2 separate regions of the Homo sapiens genome follow, and region 1 is linked to region 2. Evidence: promoter capture Hi-C in human tissues and cell types (Jung and others, 2019). All regions are on one chromosome and are shown on one strand. Each heading gives the region's core, a stretch centred on a gene start or on the middle of the fragment in contact. The rest is flanking DNA. Distances are from core to core; before and after follow the strand shown. Region 1 holds the start of GORASP2 (golgi reassembly stacking protein 2). Region 2 holds the start of MYO3B (myosin IIIB).

Evidence for each region. The method cuts DNA at HindIII sites, captures the fragments that hold promoters and counts their contacts. A contact is called where the count stands out against the background at its distance.
Region 1: the fragment with the promoter of GORASP2 here is called in contact with the fragment with the promoter of MYO3B in region 2 in 1 of the 25 tissues and cell types used here (mesendoderm cells).

Annotation. Positions count from the first base shown.
Region 1 is chr2:170,926,001-170,931,869 of GRCh38, reverse strand. It overlaps GORASP2 (golgi reassembly stacking protein 2), which reads right to left and starts at 2,617. Exons shown (of 10, transcript NM_015530.5): 1 at 2,467-2,617. The coding sequence starts at 2,529. RefSeq lists a silencer at 2,139-2,838. The HindIII fragment of the contact is 18,146 bases long and covers 1-5,869 here.
Region 2 is chr2:170,176,897-170,182,818 of GRCh38, reverse strand. MYO3B (myosin IIIB) reads right to left here and starts at 4,672. Exons shown (of 35, transcript NM_138995.5): 1 at 4,530-4,672. The coding sequence starts at 4,531. RefSeq lists an enhancer at 2,261-2,490. The HindIII fragment of the contact is 10,734 bases long and covers 1-5,922 here.

The DNA.
Region 1 (5,869 bases), core at 1,368-3,867, 750 kb before region 2:
GGGGATAAGAAGTTGGGTACACAATATGATCACAATCTGAAAATATGCACTCATACATACAGAACACATAAAAAGGAACTACACTGCTCATAGCAGAACTTCTGAATCCATTTAAAGGCTGTCCCCTAAATATTTTTAGATGGATATTGAAAAATAATGAAAAAAATGGAAAGCTCAATCTATCTGAATTATAGGGACTCATGAAATCAAAAGACAGCAGTGGATATAAATGTTATTATAATTGGTATTTCAAAACCCAGTCAATCATATTAAGTTTTTACTACAACAAGATTGGCCAGGGAATTGGTTATTCAAGAAAACTAACTTCTAATTAAATCGTTCTAGAACTTGTTGAATATGGGTGATTTTATTCAAAATTTTCCTGCCACAGTTACTCCAGTTTACAAGCTTGGTAATCTAACAATGAAATATATCGCTGTCCATTTAGGCAATAACAAATGAAAGGAAGACATTTTTACATGTTAAGATTTAACACAGCACTTTTCCCTCTAAAAACAAAGATAAGAAAACCAATTACAGAATCAGGGGCAGAGGGTCTTAGGAAGGCAGACACAAAATTCTCCTAAACTAGATCATTACTATTTTAAAGCTCTCTTTAGTAAAAGTCTAACTAAATAAGAATTATTTCATCGTGTGCAACATTAATGCTCCAGATGCAGATTGGTAACTAAGGTTGTCCCTAGTTTTTCTAAAAATCAGATGTATAGATTAATAACACATCTGCACTACTGAATATGTATGAATGCTGTTTCACTTGACTGCACTTACATAAAGAAAATACAAACTCATTTTATGTCGGAATGCAGTCACTAAGTTGGAATCCTTTTGATGTGTATGGCTTTCTTTCAAACACGCGACTTTTTTTTTTTTTTTTTGCTTATTAACACTAATGTGTTTTACTGAGTTTCCCTGAGTGCATGTATTATAAAAATATCATGAATCCCCAAGGATTCATGACCACAATCGGTCACTGTGAGAAACAGCTGGTAATACTGGGTAACATCCCAGGGTAGAGAACTCAAAATCAGACCAGATAATAGAAAGAAAAGCACAGCTTTCACCTCACATTTGGGAACTGACAATTCTCCTTCCATTTCCTCTCTCAGTGTGGCTCTTGGGTGTTTGGTTAGCAGAAGGGGATAGGAAGATAATACGGTTTATTTATAGGCTCCCTTTTCCTTTCGGGGAAAAAAAAAATCACCCTTTCCTACTAAGAGTATGGCAGAGGAGGGATTTTTAGTGTAATGGAAAGGCAATAGACACGATAATCCGGAAGATCAGAAAGATGATCTGTCTCAGCCCTATCACATAGACAGCTGGGCAATTTAAGAATGTGTCTCACCTAAAACATGGGACCCAGGGCAGGAAATGAAGGTAGCACCAGGAAGTGCACTCTCTTACTTTCAGTGAAAACGTTCTTGCCTGTGAGGAGCTAATATTGAGTGACACTCTATTACACCCCTAAATGGCGCTACACGCTGCGGCCACTCTGTTGACTGTTCATGTTAACACTCACACAGGTGTCACAGCAAACAACCATCAATGCTACTTCTAAAGTCGCCCGGTTCCATGAGGAAAAGACCACATGCTTTGTACCACCCAGGCCCAGGCCGTTCATAGGTAGGGGCTTAGCTGACGCCTTTTGAGATACTATGTTTCTCTGCGTCCTGGAAGTTAAGCTAGGGTTGTTTTCCTTTATATACTCCGATTTTTAAAAAAAATTTCTCTGCACTACCTCTTTACCACTGTGGATCTAAACCTTATAATCTAAACCACACCCTCAGCAATCGGAACAGAACGGAAGTTCCCACTCCAGGAAATCTTGAGAAGGTTTGGGAGGGTCAGGAGTGGCACGGGAAAGGAAAAGTCTGGTCAAAATCAAGTCTGTTTAAGTCCGTCGAACCTACTTCCAGGCCATTTGGTTTTCCGTCTCCTGCCCTGCTGGTCTTTCAGGCCACTCGGCCGGCGCCGAGGTGATTTAACACCTGCCGCCGCAGGCCCCGCCTCCGGACTGCGGGTCCGGATCCCTCTCCTAGGAAAGCGCAAAGGCTGCCTTCACAGTCACCACTTTGGAGACGTTGCCTCCGCGCCCTTCCTAACTTTGGAAGCTAAAAATGAGGGGGGGTGGAGGAGAGAGAAGGCCGTGCGGAAAAAGAGCAAGGTTGTCCCCCCTTCCCAGGGCCGCCCCCTGGCCGAGTCGCCGGCAGCCGCCTCCAGCTCCAGCCCGTCCTCCTACAGCCGCGGACCCCGTGCCCAGGGCGCTCCGCGGAGGTGGGATGCGAGCGGCCTCCGGAACCAGCCTCGACCAAGGCAGCGCCCGCGACCGCCGCTCCTTCGCGGGATCGGGCCTGGCTGCCCCGTGAAGGAGCCCATGGGGGCCTCCGCCTCCCCGCGGCCGGCCCCGCCTCCAGCCCGCAGCTCCCCGGCCGCCGTCGGAGCCCTTACCCGCAGAACGTGGTAGCCCTCGGTGCCCCCGCCCGGGATCTCGACGCTTTGCGAGGAGCCCATGGCGGCGGGCGATCGGTGTGGCCGAGCCGGGCTCCGCGCTGCTCCCGCCCCCAGCGCACCGCCTGCTCTAATCCTCCGCGTAGCACTTGGGACGTGGCACTCGCTGCCGCCGGAGAGCCGGGCCGCACAGCCCGCCGGGAGATCGTCTCTGCTGCAGCCCGGGCCGCTGCGACGCCGCAGACAGCGCCACCTGCCGCGAGCCACTGGAAGGGGCCCGAGCGCTCGCGGGCCGGGAGGGCGGAGAGGGAGGGCCGGAGGAGGACTGGGAGGCACCGCGTCGTGCTCGCGAGAGAACAGAAATGCGCTTCCCCCAGCTTTGGCGCCTTGCTACGGGGCCCTGGATTGGACTAGATTTATGCAGACGCGTTCCCGCTCGCCTGAAAGAACACATACTTGGTTGCAGGTCCCCCTGGTGGCCAGAGGCGGGGAAAGGGCTGCTGATGAACAGGAGCGAACTCAACACACACCAAGCTCTCTGTTCTCCGGGTGTGTAGGTATTTTCCCAAACTGTACAGCTGAGGGGAATAGTGGCCTCCTGTGGGCTGCCTAGCATCTGCTCAGCTAAATTTTATAAAAGGAAACGCTCCCTTTATAAAACAGTAGTCTCACAGAGTCACCTACCAACTTCTTTTTTGGTTTGGGTTTGTTTTTTTTTCTTCCTCCCTAATTGTGAGAATAAGATTAGAGGATTGGTCATAATCAGAGCGATGCCAGCGTGGGAAGCACGGTTGGATTTCCCTGGCATTCCACCACCTGCTGCTGCTCGGTTCCCCGTCCTACCTCCTTCAGGTAGCCAGGTCGTATTCATGCTTATTCCGTTGTCGTATTCCGTTGCTGCTTTTGCCCCTTACGTGTACTCCCTCTGAAACCCCTAGTTGCTTTGTGGTCAGTTGGACTGATGTTGCGTCAACCAGGTATTATGTGGATTCCTATGTGATGCAATGTAAAGTACGTGCTATCGCCCATGAAGTATTCTAGCCCAAGGTGGTTAACTTGCCTCTATGGCATCTTGAGTTTGATGTTTACAGGAAGTAAGGGGAATTGAGGAGCAAGTAAAATGACACCACAGGGAACCAGGCAAATACAGGAAGTGGGCCTTCCTTCAGGACAGCTGGCCAGTTCTCTTTGTCGAGTCAGAGTCCTATGAAAGGGCCTATGCCAGATTAAAAGGAACCCGAAGAATATAACCAAGAGACACATTGCAAGGGCTTGAGTTGGGGGCCAACTTGGAGAAATAAGCGTAAAGGACATTTTTGGTTCATTTGGAGAAATTTGAATATGTACTGAGTATTAGAAGAGTAGTTATTCACATGGAAACGTGGAAATTATTGTCTTTTTTAAAAGCTGGTTACAAGACGGGATGTGTCTGTAGACAAAATGAAAAACATGTCCTCAAAATACAGATTAATATGTATGTATGCATATGAAGATGTGGGAGGAGAATATGAACCAAGGGTTACAGTGGTGATCTCTGGGTGGTGACAGAGATATTTTATTTTTTGTTTTGGCTGGTTCCATATTCTATGATGCTCATGAAGTGCTTTTGTAATAAGAAAATATTATTTAAAATTTAAAAATAATTTTCTTTGCTATCGGTAAGTGAATAGCAGATTTTTAGGAGGCCTAATAAATCCATAAATCCATAAATGAAATCTCCAGTTATTAGGCTCCTCAAGGACAGGGTCTGCAGTGGAGTTGGCTCTATGTTCTTGATATTTACCAGAATGCCTAGCAGCTAATTCAACAAATTAATACATTTAATGCAAGAGAATAAATGGAAGAACTAGATCTAATTATAATGTTCTCATTCTGCTTGGCAATTATAACCCTCTTTATGATGGAAGCTGCTGCCATGTTCAGTGGTCAAAATTTTTGGACCAGTTGTCTCCCATATGTCTGATGGCAGCCGCGGCCTATAGAACCCAGGCTGTGGATCGTTGGTGGTCCATGGGCAAGTCCAGCCCTTCCTTAGAGCTGTAGTGTATGTTTCAGCCTCATGAGTGGCTGCTTGTTATTCTCCACACAAGCCATTTACTTTCTTACCTTCTTGATTTTATTCATGCTATTCTCTACTTCTGGAATGCCCTTCCTTACATTTTCCACTTAAAAAATCCTAACTTTGAAAAAATCCTAATCCTTTAAGTCCCATCTCAAATGTTACTTATTTATCCTTAAGGTCAGTGTGACTCTCTCCTTGCCATGAAACAGTTCCTTCATTTCTATGACATCATCGTCATCATCACAGGCCTGTCTTCCACCATTCGTGGTCCATTCATTCAGAGCAAGGATCATATTTTTTTTTTCCTTCCTTCCTTCCTTCCTTCCTTTCTCTCTCTTTTCTTCTTTCTTTCTTTCTCTCTTTCTTTCTCTCTCTCTCTCTCTCTTTCTTTCTTTCTTTCTTTCTTTTCTTTCTCTCTTTCTCTTTCCCTCATTCCCTCGCTCCCTCCCTTCCTTCCTTCTTTTTTTTCCTTTCTTTCTTGTGAAATGGGTCTCACTCTGTCTCCCAGGCTGCAGTGCAGGGGTGTGATCACAGCTCACTGCAGCCTCCACCTCCTGGGCTCAAAATCATCCCTACCTCAGCCTCCCGAGTAGCTAAGACTACAGGCACGCACTACCACACCCAGCTAATTTTTTTGATTTTTTGCAGAGACGACGTCTCATTATGCTGCCAGGCTTGTTTCGAACTCCTGGGCTCACATGATTCTCCCACCTCAGTCTCCCAAAGTGCTGGGATTATAGGTGTGAGCCACCACACCCAGCCGATCATGTTTTTTCATCTTGAGATCCCCAGTTCCTGGTTGAGTATTGGGAACATGGTAGTAGTGTTTATTGATTTGAATTGAATGTGTGTAATGAATAGCTTCAAAGCCTTTTTTTCAGAATCAGTTAGTAAGTGACCTCTGTGGCTACTATTTGTGTCTCATCAAAATCTGTGGGTTTTTTTTCTTTTTTTTCCTAATTCCCAGGGTGATGGTAAAAACCCATGTTATTTCTTTAGCAGCAGTTGGTGGAGGGTGTGAGGGTGAGGTACAGGGCCCACCTGGTTTGGGACTGAAAAAATGTGAGAATGATTGCTCCATTTTTCCTGGTGCCAGTTGTTTCCTCTTTTAGTTGGAGAATACGCTCCAACAGAAGGCAAATAGTAAAATCTCAAGGATATTGCCAAAGCTAATATAAATAATACAACATGATGGAGGGAACACGTGGTAGATTATTGTCAAGTCAGCTTCAATTGGAGTAAGAATCTGCTGCAGGCAGGTTGGTATTTTGAAACATCAGAGGCAGCAGAAAAGTGAAGTCCAACAGAAGCAAATGTCTACAGGCTAAAAAACCGGAAGTA
Region 2 (5,922 bases), core at 3,423-5,922:
GCCAACATGGTGAAACCTCGTCTCTACTAAAAACAGAAAACTTAGCCGGGTGTGGTGCAGGTGCCTGTAATCCCAGCTACTCAGGAGGCTGAGGCAGGAGAATAACATAAACCTGGGAGGCGTAGGTTGCAGACAGCTGAGATCACGCCACTGCACTCCACCTTGGGCAATGGAGTGAAACTCAGTCTCAAAAAAAAAAAAAAAGAAACAGAAAAAGAAAAACACATAACATGAAAATTTTAAAAAAGAATAATTAGTGAACATAATTTGACCAGACACTAAAACATGTTATACTGCTAGAGTAATTAAAACATTATGCCACAGGGGTAGAAATAAGTAGTCAGATCGTTAGACTAGAAACCAAAAGTAGACTCAAATACACAAAGAAATAGGGTTTATGATAAAAATCACATTACAAATCAATAGGCAAAAGATGGACTAAATAATACTGTTCAATAAATTATGCTGGCTTAACTTGCTGGCTGTTCAGAAAAAAAGTTAAGCCAGATTGCTACCTCATTCCTTTCTCCAAAATAGAGTATGGTGGCTCAAAATTTTTTAAAAAAATATAGCTAAATACATTATAGTCTTGGTGTAGGCAAGAAATATTTTCAAGTAGAATAGAAAACTCACAAGCCCTAAGAAAAAAATTGATAAACATAATTGCATACAAGTAAAAAGGTCTCTACAACCAAAAGAATTGTTGTAAGTACTAACATTTTTCCAAAAAATAAATAGAAAAGAAGGTTTGTATCAGGAGCTAATTTTCTATCAAGAGTATATACAATAAAAAAGAAAAAGACTCAAAAAATTTAAATGTATAAAAGATGCTAAATCTCACTAGTAAATTTTAAACGGCAAATCAAACTAATGAGATACCATTTGTCTCCTATCACACTGTCAAGATTTTTAGAAGTTTGATAATAGTGTTAAGAGAAATAAGCACTCTGAGACAACATGAGCGAAAGCGTAAACAATCTTTGTGAGGAATTATTAGTCAAAATCTACCAAATGCCCATTCCCTTTGTCTCTGTAATTCTACTGGTAGGCATTTACTTTACATATATAATCAAAAAAAGCACACTTAGATTTATATTAACAGAACATAAAAGAAAAACCATCATCTCGATCGATGCAGAAAAAGCATTCACAAAAAATTCAACATTTATTCAAAATTTAAAAACAACAACAAAAATCTCTCAACAGACTAGAAAGTGAAAGGAACTTCTTCATCTGATACAGGAATCTAGGAAAAACCTGAAGTTAACACCACACTTAATGGTGAAAAACCGAATGCTTTCACCTTAAGATCAGAAGCCAAGGATGTCTGCTCTCATCATTTATATTGAATACTGTGGTGAAGCCAGAATAATAAGTCAAGAAAAAGAAAATTTAAAAATCCAGATTAGAAGGGAAGAAGTAAAATGGGCTTAATTTGAAGATTACATGATTATCTATTTAAAAAACTGATGGAATTTATAAAAACATTACTAGAACTAATTAGTGAGTTTATCAGAATTACAGGATACAAACAAGGTCAATATTTTAAATTCAATTATATTTCTACATACTAGAAAGGAAAACTTTTCAACAGTGCTAAAACAATTGTAGAGCAATATGCAAAAAGAAAAAAAGAATCTTTATCCTTACACCACATATAAAAATTAACTTTAATCATTAAACAGATGTAAGAGCTAAAACTCTATTAAACTTGAAGTAGATAGACATACAAGATTGTTCACTATAGTATTATTTTCAGTAGAAAACCAGATACAACCTAGAGGCCCATCATCATGGAGAGATTATCTAATAAATCATAATAGTTACATAAAATTAAATACAATGTAGCCACAGGTAACCACCAAAAAGAAAAAAGGTAAATTTTCTGCCAATTAATATGGAAAGAATGCCAAATATACAATTAAGATTTGTTTTAAAAGTGTTGAATAGTGTATAGAGAGGACAATTTTTGTGTAAATACAAAGAATATTTGCATTTCTAGTCATTTTATGTGTATATTTGTGTGTATGTCTCTATGTATGTGTATATCCTTATATACATTTTTCCAGAAGGCTACACAGGAAACTCTTAAACTTTAGGGAGAGGTGGTAAAAATCAGAGAGTTTGGAAAAGAGAGAAATTTATATGCTTTTTAAAATTATTACACATTTTTAGTCATGTTTTTTGCTAGTGCATATGTTATTCTACTTTTTAAAATAAATATTTTTTAAAAAAACATATAAGAGATCTCTACAGAGGAGACTATTATGACCCAAATGTGTGCTGAAGTCAGAGGATAGCAGAAACCATATGAAACAGAGGCTCATCCTGAGAAGAAAAAGAAAACAGAGAAATAAGAAACTGAAAGGACCATGCTTGAGAGAGTGAGACAAAGAGGATTAGTGAGTGGGTTCACTGTGAATTCTACATCTTGGCCCTCTGAGGCCTGCTAAGCTTTGCTGTCTGTCCTTGTAACCCATGAAATTTCCTACTGCATTCTTCCAAGCAGCCCCTCTTTTCATGAGCTGATTTGAGTTTCTCGTGAGCTAGTTTTAGTTCCTTAACAACCCCAAATTGGTCTAGTCTGATCCCTTGTTGAATACCCTGAATTAGTCCCTAACGGAGGTACAGCCTTACCTTGTTGAAAGTAAAGCACTCTGCAGCATGCACCCTGTGAATGTCTGCAGTTAGTCAAGCCTAGCGAGCATGATTTAAATAGAAACTTGCCCAGCAACATTTTATACTCATTAGAAAATTCATGATGAAGATTTCCATTGCTCAGTATGCTATTCAGAATATTTTTTCTAGATGTTATAGTATGGTATATATGAATCACAAATCATAGAATGCTTTCAAATCTAGAGAATAGATTTTAGAAAGAAGAAATCGGAAACCTGAACTGTGAAATGTCAGAGGAAATCTGTACAAATATTAAATATAACACCCAGAGATACACAGAATAAGGAAACACATACCATACAAGCGTGAGTAAATTAGAGAATAATTCCAAACCAATACATAAGCAAGTGCATAATAGTTGTGTTAGTCCATTTTCTGCTGCTGTAACAGAATACCACAGACTGCATCATTTATAAACAATAGAAGTTTATTTGGCTCATGGTTCTGGAGGCTGGGAAGTCCAAGATCAAGGGGCCACATCTGGTGAGGGCCTTCTTGCTGCATCATAACATGGTGGAAGGTCTCACATAGTGAGACAGGGCAAGAGAGTGAGAGCTCAAGAGAGAGAAAAAGGAGACTGAACCTATCCTTTTACTAGGAGCCGTCTCCCACAATAACAGCATTAATCCATTCATAAGGGCAGAGCCCTCATGACCTAGTCACCTCTTAAAGGTCCCATTTCTTCTCACAATGGCAATTAAATTTCAACATGATCTTTGGAGGGGACATTCAAACCATAACCATGGTAAAGACGTAAGAGTAGGAACTGGCTTCTTCACAAACCACCTATCTGGATGCTGCTAGATAGGGCCTGTTCAAGTATAGCTCAAATGTCTTCTCTTCTAGGAGGCCTTTCCTAATTTTCCCACTAGAACTGACCTTTATGGTTCCACTGATTATGTACTCTTTTCCTTTCTTTAAATTTTATTTTATTTTAAGTTCCAGGTTACATGTGCAGGACGTGCAGGTTTGTTACACAGATAAACATGTGCTATGGTGGGTTGGCTGCACCTATTAAGCCCCCCATGCATTAGCTATTTATCCTGATGCTCCAGGGGAGACACTCAGGACTGGCATTTGACAGAGCTTGGTAGAGGAATCCAATGATCTCTAGGTTGATCTCTAAGTTCCATCTCTAATGTTCTATGGATTTTAAACCTTGAATATACAAAATTACTGAGAGGAAGAAAAGAATCATGGCATAATGGAATTTATCTACTATTGTTTACATTGTCATGTTACCAAATTAACAAATCTGTCATGATATTGCAGTCACTAAGGAACAATACATACCCACAGCTCTTACAAATGATTAACTAAATGATCAGATTTTTCATTTCCCCACCAAAGCATGAGGAAATTTATCTTAGCTTTAGCTGCCTGAAACCTCTCTTGGGTGAAAAACATTAAAAACATCTGCAAATTACTGATGACTAATGCCCTTCAATTTGGCCTCAAGCTGAGAAATTCTGTGCAGAAATAAAGTGGTTTATAATCCCACAGGTCCATTCTATTATAAACTGCAGGTGGCAAATCAAGTGACTATGAACTATGCTGTGTGTATGTGTGTGTGTGTGTGTGTGTGTGTGTGGTGTGTGTCTGTGTAAAAAGCAATACTCAAGAGGGTGTTTATCCTACTCCTTCAAGAGAAATTTAACCACCCAGACAAAAGGCAAATGCTAACTGAGAGGACCCAGGAATCTGGGTGATGTCAGACAGAGGCCCAAAGCCAGAGTGGCTGTCATCCCCCTCCACTGCCCACCAGCCAGGGCAGCTGCATCTGCCCTTTGCAGAAAAACAATCTAAAGCAAGCACAGAAGAAAGCTGGAAGGAAAATAACTGCAACTCACATCGATGACCTATTTTCTGAATCCGGCTTATGAGAGATTGGATTCTCATTCCTCCAAAAACCAGCAGAACACTTCAGGCCCAGAAAATGGTGTCTTTGATGACTAGAATGTATGACACATCATTACCAAAGGACTTTCGATCTAGGTTCCAAGAGGTGTTAGCCTCAGATGACTATTGTGGGAGGAGCTGATAAATCCACCAAATCCTTGGTGACTTTGCTTCACTATTAGGCAAGATTAAGATGATGCTAATTGGTAGTGAGCCTGATCTATTTAGTGTCTCCTACCAGGACACAGAGCAGAATCAAAACCATTCTCACAGATCCTGTTTGCATGTCATTTAACAGTTCCAATGTGATATTCCCCCAACCTTTTAAAGTTCCTTCATTCCAGATTAAATTCCTTCATTCCAAATGCTGCACAATCAAAACTAATCATCTTTTTGTGAGCAAAGGGCATAATCAAAGCATGTAGTCAGGGTCACTTTTCTGAACTGCAGATAAACCCAGGGGAAACACCATGAGTTTCTGATCTGAATTACCAAGCAATGAAACAGTGACTATTCAACAGTGACTATTCATTCAGTAGCATGCCCTGGGCTATATACAGAACAGTAGGTTAAGAGGAGGCAGGGGGTGGGGGGGTGGTGCTGGGCATGGTGGATCACGCCTGTAATCCCAGTACTTTGGGAGGCCAAGGCTCGTGGATCACCTGAGGTCAGGAGTTCGAGACCAGCCTGGCCAACATGGGGAAACCCCATCTCTACTAAAAATACAAAAATTAGCAGGGTATGGTGGTGTGCGCCTGTAATCCCAGCTACCAGGGATGCTGAGGCAGGAGAATTGTTTGAACCTGGGAAACGGAGGTTGCAGTGAGTAGAGATTCTGCCACTGCACTCCAGGCTGGGCAACAAAGTAAGACTCCATCTCAAAAAAAAAAAAAAAAAAAAAAAAGGGAGAGAGGGGAAGTGAGAAACAGGAGGGTAGGGTCCCCAGAAAGCTTCTTTTCTGGCCAGCTAACATGACACATAGGCCCATGTGAAATAGTTGAAGACTGTGCAATAACACTGGATAAGCTATATCCATCAATTCTGAGGAGGAGTCAGTTCAACCCAGGACCAAGACTTGAGTGGGAATGCTTCCTGGAGCAGATAAATCTAGGTACAGTTTTGAATGAAGAAGTGAAAAGGATTAGTGTAGATGAGGCAGGAGAGAAACCCAGAGCCAAGAAACAGCACACAGAGAATGCAAATATGAAGAAGGTGATTTAAAGGACAGCGATCTTACTCCCGCTAGTCAATAATGGCCTTTGTGTTTCCATTTACTGTCATAAGAATCTTAAGAATGGGGATAATGTGTTCTATCTTCCTATATTTCCTACAGTATTTGCACAT